2 separate regions of the Homo sapiens genome follow, and region 2 is linked to region 1. The links are contacts of gene promoters, found by promoter capture Hi-C in human tissues and cell types (Jung and others, 2019). All regions are on one chromosome and are shown on one strand. Each heading gives the region's core, a stretch centred on a gene start or on the middle of the fragment in contact. The rest is flanking DNA. Distances are from core to core; before and after follow the strand shown.

Evidence for each region. The method cuts DNA at HindIII sites, captures the fragments that hold promoters and counts their contacts. A contact is called where the count stands out against the background at its distance.
Region 2: a fragment that was not itself captured here is called in contact with the fragment with the promoter of MTHFS in region 1 in 3 of the 25 tissues and cell types used here (H1 embryonic stem cells, lymphoblastoid cells and thymus).

What each region holds. Positions count from the first base shown.
Region 1 is chr15:79,895,196-79,899,590 of GRCh38, reverse strand. MTHFS (methenyltetrahydrofolate synthetase) reads left to right here and starts at 2,577. Exons shown (of 3, transcript NM_006441.4): 1 at 2,577-2,719. The coding sequence starts at 2,603. The region is part of intron 2 of ST20-MTHFS (ST20-MTHFS readthrough); the gene reads left to right. ST20 (suppressor of tumorigenicity 20) reads left to right here. Exons shown (of 3, transcript NR_037653.2): 3 at 466-749. RefSeq lists an enhancer at 2,079-2,128 and a silencer at 2,269-2,568. The HindIII fragment of the contact is 7,261 bases long and covers 1-4,395 here.
Region 2 is chr15:80,178,256-80,182,886 of GRCh38, reverse strand. It overlaps FAH (fumarylacetoacetate hydrolase), which reads right to left. Exons shown (of 14, transcript NM_000137.4): 12 at 2,662-2,763; 13 at 1,728-1,845. Among named protein-coding and RNA genes, the nearest start is that of FAH, 28 kb to the right of the region's middle. The HindIII fragment of the contact is 7,164 bases long and covers 1-4,631 here.

The sequences.
Region 1 (4,395 bases), core at 1,328-3,827:
AATTCATATTACAAATATAAGTGCATTGAAATCAATGTTGGACAATTAAACAAGAACAAGAACAAAAAGACTTTTTATCCTCTAGAGCTGTGCTTGCTGTTCACTATGGTAGTAAAATGTGGCTAGTCTGAATTAAGATACGCTGTAAGTACTAAATACTCATGAGATTTTGAAGGTTTGTTATGAAAAAAACTATCTCATTAGTGATTTGACATTGATTACATACAGAAATCATTATCACTAAATATATCTTAAAAATTAATTTTTCCTATTTTTGTACTTTTTAAAATGTGGCTACCAAAAATTAAAATTACAGATGTAGGCCACACTGTGTTTCTGTTACACAATGCTCCTTTAGAGGGATAGAAGATTATTTGCATTATTTAAATGAAAATATTTTTGCTTTTTATTCCAGCATACTTAATCTCCAATGATTTTTAAAATGTTAAATTTATTCTCTCATAGGAAAATGGCTTTGTAAAGAAGCTTGAGCCTAAATCTGGCTGGATGACTTTTCTAGAAGTTACAGGAAAGATCTGTGAAATGCTCTTCTGTCCTGAAGCAATACTGTTGACCAGAAAGGACACTCCATATTGTGAAACCGGCCTAATTTTTCTGACTCTTACGAAAACGATTGCCAACACATACTTCTACTTTTAAATAAACAACTTTGATGATGTAACTTGACCTTCCAGAGTTACAGAAATTTTGTCCCTATTTAATGAATAAATTGTATGTATTTTTCTCTATATGCCATTTTTGTCTTCAGTTTTGGAGTCTGGCTGGAAATTCAGCCAAAGGGTAAAAGCTCAACACAGGATCCAGGCAATTAATTATGGGATGATGACCAGGAAGGCGGTGTCTTTTCTGCCCCAGGCAGACTTTTAAGGTGTGCCATTACCCCAAAAGTCCTTTTCTGTGTCACTAGGCTAGACTGCAGACTAGACTGAGAAGCGGACTCAGGCTAGAAGCAGACTCAGGTCGGCTTCCCTCTTCCCTCCTTCCTTCCCATGCTTTCTGCAGTTTCCAGTGCCCCTGGCTGCTTAAGAGTTTCCATTGATGCCTCCTCCCCAGCCTTCTCTCTCTGGCTTGCCATTTGGGGTTGATGGATATGGCAACCTGATATGCAGGATACTCTGGGATATTCTGAACAAAGAAAATTGGTAAATGATTCAACGTGGAGCTAGTGTTAATTTTAATTTTTATTTTTTGGTAAAAATGAACAGATTAGAAAAGTACGTAGTTTGTTAGACCTCGTGTTCTAACTTTTAGGTCAGCAAATCTAATTGCACTATGTATACGCTGTACCTGCCTGGCCTTCCCTTTTTCTTACAACACAGTCCCCCTGGGACTTGCATTAGCTTTCCCTGGAAGCTGTTGATAGATTCCATAAAGAAGCCAGAACTCCCCTCTCAAGCCATGTGCATTCTCACCGGGCACTTAATTAATGCTTTACCTAGGAGGTGTGATTCTTAACGGTGGGGATTAAGACACTGGGGCGGTCAGTAGGGACGTATTTTTGGCAGAGACAGCTCTGGTTTTCTTAGGAAGTCACATCTGAGAGGCAACCGTCTATGCCATCTGAGGCGCCTGTCTACTGGGAGCAGTTTAAGACTTAACAGTTTCTTTTACCTCTTCCTGCAAGTGCCTCACCCACCCCCCAACTGCTTTTAGTTTTAATTCATTTTTGTGTTTTAATCAGAGCTGAGTGGTGGGAATGAACAGTCACTGATGGTTATAACAGGAAGTACCTATGTGGGCACTATTACCTGGAATACATTCACACTAGAAACCCGCAAAATTTGGCTTTTACACTACAGTTATTGCTTTAGCAGTGTTCCCGATTATGTATCATCTATACATTCATCACATAAGGACATTTCCATCAACCACTGTGGTCCCTTAAGATTATAATGGAGCTGAAAAATTCCTAATACCTACTGATGTGGTAGCCAACCAACACATTACCTTTTCTGTGTTTAGATACACAAGTATCACGGTGCTTACAATTGCCTACAGTATTCGGTACAAAATACGCTGTACAGGTGTGTAGCATAGGTGTGTAGTAACTTTGTGTAACTACACTCTGATGTTTGCACAAGAAGGAAATCGGGGCATCTGTCAGACCTATCCCTGTAGTTAAGCGACTCGTGACGATTTCGCTACATGTCCTGCCTTGCCCTTCTTTTCTGGCCCCTGAAGTCCCACTACTGAACAGTACAAGAGATGCCAGGCACCGTGGGTACTGCCGGCCATCTTTACCATCCCCGCCAGTGGCGCTGCCGCCTCCGCGGTCCCGGTGAGGGCCCAGGCTCAGGGAGGTCAGGCGGCAGGGCAGCGACGGCGCCTCGCCACCGCTCCCCTAACCGGGGAGGGCGAGCCGGACCACGGGGACCGCACGAGGGCTGGGTCCCAAGGGCCAGAGGCGAGGTAAGCGCGCGGCGCGCCGCGGGCCCGCGTCCCGGAAGCGGGGTGGGGGCGCTTCCCCGAGCCCCGACCCGCCCCTAGGCCGCGGATCCACCTGGGAGCGGCCAGGGGCGGAGACCGAACCCGAGGGCGCCCAGGGCGCCGAGGGCGGGACTGGACTCGGCTTGGGCGTGAGATGGCGGCGGCAGCGGTGAGCAGCGCCAAGCGGAGCCTGCGGGGAGAGCTGAAGCAGCGTCTGCGGGCGATGAGTGCCGAGGAGCGGCTACGCCAGTCCCGCGTACTGAGCCAGAAGGTGCGAGGCCGCCCGTAGCGGAAGCCGCGGCGGACAGACCCTCCGAAGGCCTGGCGGCCAGCGATTGCTGATCTGTGCATGGTCCGTGCTGGCGCTGGGCTAGGCGCCCCCCCACCCCCCGGCGCGCGCACGTTTCCCCTCCCGGCGCGCGCACGCCCCCTAGTCGTGGTCTGGACGCTCTTGGCACTATGGCGGGGAGAGGGCCCGGTAGTGAAAGTTGTGGGGCTAAAGAGCGAGAGGACGGCAGGGGTTGACAGATTTATCTCTGGGAGGGGAGTTTGTTTGCATGGGTGGCTCTTTTGGTGCTCGAAAACCCTCCGTGGGGATGACGGTGCTGTGGTGAGAGCACGGTGAGAACAGAAAGTTGTGGTAGAGGAGATGGGTGAACACCTGAGTGCCCAGGTTCCCTCAGTGAGGCCTAAAGTTAATGAGCTACGAGTAAGACTCCGGTTATATTAGTAAAATGGCCAGAGAAAGATGCAGGTGCTTTAGACGAGGGAACACCAAAAAAGGTGTGGAGATGCCAAAGGGCAGAACTCAGAGGTTGACTGGACTTCACTAAGCATATGGAGGGCTAAGGCTGTGTCTCAGTAGCTCCAGGGCCTAGGCTTTTCCTGTCTCAGAGTTGGTCAACATTAAATGCTTTTTCTTGAGTGAACGAAAGGAAGACTTGGCTATCATATCCAGGCTTCCCAAGAACGTAGGAAACAGAAGAGAGAAATGAGAGGAATAAGTGAGGGTCCGTGTTTGTTGGTTAGCAGACCTCTGTTTCATTACTTTCACCAACTGCACTGCTATGTATTTTTAGTCTATGTAATGTCAGTTTTCTTATCAATAAAATGGCAGTCATATCCTGTTGTGAAGGCATGTTCTAAAGAGTTTTTGGGGACTCATTTTTGTTAGACACCAGAGGAAGAAAAATTTAATGTCCCCTGAATAAGTACGTATTTGTAATTCTGTTGTAAGTCAAACTGATGATCTGTCTTCCCAGCATCATGCTTCAGAGACACCAGATATTTGGAAACTTGATGTTCCTTGGAATTAGTTATACCATCAGGCTTTCTTAATTACCCTTCACTATTCTATTATCCGTTATTTACTCAAATTCAAGGTGCCTATGGGTTAAAGCAGTAAAGCATATATGCTCATTTCACCCCTCTCTTCATCTATGTAGGTGTGTATGAGGGAATCTATACAGATGTTAATTCGTTCGTTCAAACAGAATTATTTTAGCTATTATGAGGAAGCATTGCTGGGTGTTTTAGTAGATGTAAAGGATATAGACTCTTGTCCTTACTATCTAGTTGTTTAAAATTTAGCTAATTCATTCACATATGTTGAACACCTATGTAGTGCACACTTGGCTATATACTGGGTTGTGGAGATGAAAAAGATATGATTGTTGCTCTAAAGGAGCAGAGAGCCTAGAAGAGGAAACAGACATGAATAAAGAATTGCATTGAAGCCAGATATATGATAAAGGTAAACACCAATGTTGTGGAAACATAGCCTTGGGGAGGGGAAATTGGAAAGCTTTCTATTGGAAAATGTTTGAGATGAATTTCGGAGAACAAGATGAATTCTTTCAGGTGAAGGGAAAGATGGGATAGGGGAGTGTGAGTAGGGATATTTAGGCAAGAGATGACAGGATACAGTTTAGCATGGGCTTTGGAACT
Region 2 (4,631 bases), core at 536-3,035, 280 kb before region 1:
TCCTTTCCCCAAATCAAAACTTCAGAAAATGCTTTCACTCAATCCACAGAACCGTGACCAAAGGCCTGCGGTAGGTCTGGCAAGCATTGCAGAAAGACTAGAAACAAACTTGGCAGGGGAATCAGAAGACCTCAGTTGCAGACTGGCTTCCCCAGTTGTGGGACTTTTGTCAAGTAACCTGCCTTCTATCAGCCTAAGTTTTCGACTCTGCAAAATGGGGGCAATGATATTATATCATCAAAGGGCTATTGTGAGTAGAAAATGAAATAAGGAAGGTGGACATGCCTGCAATATGGTTGGCTCCTAGCAGATGTTCAGTAAATAGTCAAATTCAAATTAGAGAGGTATAATTAGGCTGCAGAAATGGGAGCAAAATGGGTATTTATTGATTAATAATGGGTATCATCTGCTGTTTTGAGCTCTGCCTGCATCTTCTCTACCAAATCCACTTTATTCAAAGAACTAACCAACAGCCACACTGGGCATGCACTATGTGGCTGCTACTTGGACTAAACTTTGCTCTCCAAGAGCTCTGGAGTGGACTAAATTACGGCCAAATCCCTAGGACCTGTGAATGTTACCTTATATAGTAAATTTTCTGGAGATGTGATTAAGTTGGGATCTTAGAATGAGGAGATTGTCTAGGTGGGCTCTAAATGCTATCACATGTGTGTTATAAGAGAGAGGTAAAGGAGATGAGACAGAAGACGAGGCGACAATGTGACCGTGGAGGCAGAGATCAGTGTGATGTGGCCACAAGACAAAGAGGCTTCCACCAGAAGCTGGAAGAGGCCAGGGACAGACGCTCCCCAGAGTTTCCAGGAACATGGCACTGCCAACACGAGGATTTTGAACTTGTACCTTATAGAGCTGTGAGAGAATACATTTCAGTTGTTTTAAGCCACAAAGTTTGCGGTACTATGTTACTGCAGCCACAGGAAACTAACACAAGCTTTTAGTTAAGCACGGAAACTGACACATACACAATTAGCGCGCCTGTAATCCCAGCTACTCGGGAGGCTAAGGCACAGGAGAATCGCTTGAACCTGGGAGATGGAGGTTGCAGTGAGCTGAGATTGTGCCACTGCACTCCAGATTGGATGAGAGAGCAAGACTCCGACTCAAAAACAAAAAAAATAATTAAAGATGAGGTAAACTGAGTCTCAGAAAGGCTAAATAACTTAATGAAGGTCACACAGCTGGTGGGGGACCTGGGAGTTCAACTTGAACCTTTCCAGCTCTAAAGAGTGTGCTGCTAACCATTATGGTGCCCTTTCCCTCTATTAGTAAAATGTGGTAGGCAGAATGGCACCCCCAGAAGAATTAAGAGGCACCCTCACCTCCTTGGAACAGGCTGCTGCGAAGCCTCAGTCACTAACTCAGCTGAACCTTCCTTGATCCTAGTCATAGGTCACCAAGTGTCTGCACAGGGCGTTTGCTGCAAAGTCTAGACCTTGAGGAACCTGCCAGTATTTTATAACTATGCTCAGGGAGAAGGGAGACCAAGCAGAATGTCTACAGTCTTTCTGGCCTAGGGAGACTCACACTTGAAGTCCCGGGTAGCCATAGCTGTGGGGAAGGACAGAACAAGCAGGCAGAGACTCTGGGAGGCAGAGTCAGGATGCGTGAGAACAGATGGCTTCATGGCCAGGTAGGAGCGCCCCGCAGCTAGAACAGTGCATGGCGGGCAAGGAGGAAGACGAGCTGCTGGGTTTGGCAGCCCTCACCTGTTATGATGACTTCATCCCCGTCCAGCAGAAACTTCCTGGTCTGACCATTCCCCAGGTCTATGGGCTTCGTTCCCTTCCACGACAGTTCCAACATGGAGCCGAAGTTTTCTGGCTCCTTCATCACAGGAAAGGGAAGAAAGAATAACATGAATTTATGCCTTGGCTCTGGCATGGACCATGCTCAGCAAGACCTGGGAGTCCCGAGAAGTGGCAGGGGGCCCTCATGCCCCTCAGAGACCCTGCCTCGGCCTTGGTGGGATCACTGCAGAGATGCCTTTGAGACATGGAACTCTGCCCCTTCTTCCTGTGGGGACAGCAATGGTTCCACTAAGGACATCGCTTGTTTAGGAATCAGTGAATCCCTGACCAGAGTGCCCAGTGCCCCCTGCAGCATCCCCTCCCTGCTCTGGAGGCTGCAGTTTGCCCAGATATCGTGATGCTTAACACCCTCCTGTCGACAGCTCAAGGAACAAGAGGGCTCGGCCAGCCCCCTGCAGGAAGTGAGTGACACATGCACCACCCCAAGGTCATCATCTCTGAAGGTTCTGTGACTCCCGCAGGCTTACAGGGGGACAAGCGGGTGGGAAGGGGCACAGCAGCATGGCCACCTCATCCTGGGAGGGTGTAGTGTGAGATGGTGACAACCAAGACACTATCACTGTCTCCTGACTCCTCCCCACGTGTCACTGCGCTGCTCCCCTACAGAGGCAGAGACCCAGGCTTCCGTTCTCACACCAGTCTCTTTAGGTTTGAATTTGGATGAGAAGTCCCTCCTGCACCCAGAGAGAAAGGCTACGAGGAAGACAGAGTTGTGAGATACACCCACCTCGGGCCTGAAATCTCTTCTCGAGGCTGAGCTGAGGGCCCTTGGGGCTGTGTGGGGAGCAGGGATGCTCTGCGTGGGCAGCCCTCAGTGCAGCCAGATACTCACCGGCCCGCTGATGGTCCCAGAAGCCAGGAGGTCCCCCGGCCGCAGGTTGCAGCCGTTGACAGAGTGGTGAGTGAGCTGCTGCAGCATCGTCCAGTACATGTACTGCAGGCAATGGACGCGAGGTGGAATGAGCAGCGGCAGGCTTAGCCTAGCATCCCGGAGGCAGCTGGGCACAGCCTGCCCTGCTCACGACCGCCTTCCCTGGCCTTTCCCCGGTCCCCAGCTCCCCCAGCCAGCTCTCTCCAGTCCCTTATAGTAAGGACACATTGTCCTCCTGGGGAGCTGCCCAGAGACCTCCCCCAAGCTCTTCCATCTCCTTCACAAACTCCAACCTCAGCTCCTCTGCTACCTCAAGCCCACACTGACCACCTTCTCCAAGCAGCATCCCCTAAGGGCTGACCTTACTGCTCAGTCCCTCAGCCTGCAACATGCCCTTGTGTACAACACTCCACTCTGCCCTGGGAACACCCTCCAGTCCCGTATTGGGAGAATCTAAGTCCACACCACAGCAGAGGCTTCTCGTGAGCAAAGCCCTCGCTCCCATTCTCCCATGCCGGGCCTTGGGATGGACACTGGGCAATGGAGCTGAACGATTCAAACACGATGTCAGGGCAGGCCAAGGAGCGAGGGAGAGCTGTGGGCGGTCAGGCTGTGGGCAGAGGGGGCCAAGGCACCACGTGCCCACCGAGACGCTCAGATGCAATGCACGCCCATGCCTGTCCCAGGCCACAGCTTCTCACATTGCCATTCCTACAGCCACACATCCCGGCATAGGAAACCCAAAAGATGGATTCTTGCCCACGAGCCCCTGCAAGGAGGCCCCTTAATTTCTTCTTACTAGCCCTAAGGAGCCCAGAATAATATTAAATTAGAAGGGAAATTAGGGAAACTAGAAATAGTTCAATGATTCAGAGGATATTCAAAAGGCCAAGAAACAAATGAACCATAAACATATGACTAACATGCCCAGCTGCATTAGTCATTAGGGAAATGCAAACTGAAGTCACAATCCCAGGCACGGTTTGAACGAAAAGGCAAACACCACCAGAGCTGACGAGGATGTGGAGCAGGCAAAATGCTTACATGCTGCTAGTGGGAGTATATACTGGTATAACCACTTCAAAAAACTGTTTGGAAGTACCCCTAGGCTGAGTCTATGTGTACTCTATGACCCAGCAAGCCTATTACTGGATATACACTCAATAGAAATGTGCACATATGTGCACCAAAAGGTGTGTACTAAAATGTTCACAGTAACTCTGTGATAGCCAAAAACAACGGAAACAACCAAATGTCCATCGATTGTGGAATTGATGTGACTTACAAAATAAGTCAGTTGGCCGGGCGCAGTGGCTCATGCCTGTAATCCCAGCACTTTGGGAGGCTGAGGCGGGCGGATCACAAGGTCAGGAGATCGAGACCATCCTGGCTAACATGGTGAAACCCCATCTCCACTAAAAATACAAAAAAAAAAATTAGCCGGGCGTGGTGGCGGGCACCTGTAGTCCCAGCTACCCGGGAGGCTGAGGCAGGAGAATGGCATGAACCCAGGAGGCGGAGTTTGCAGTGAGCCGAGATCGCGCCACTGCACTCCAGCCTGGGCAACGAGCGAGACTCCATCTCAAAAAAAAAAAAAAATTAAGTCAGTTGTGGAATATTTATACAGTGCAACACTATAAGGCAATGAGAAAAATGAGCTGTCACTGCAAAGAGCAACAGGGTTGAATCTCACAGATCTAACACTAAAACAAAGATGCCAGCTACAAAAGAATACATGCTACTTTATGATGCCATTTCTATAAAACTGAAAAACAGAAAAAAAATAATACATGGTAGCAGAGGTCAGGAGAGGAGTGACCTTTGCTGGAGGGAGTGATGAAGTGACCTGGAGGGCCCCACGGGGCTGCTGAGGTGCTGGAAATTTTCCATTTCTGATCTGGGTGCTGGTTGCACAGGGATGTTCATTTTAG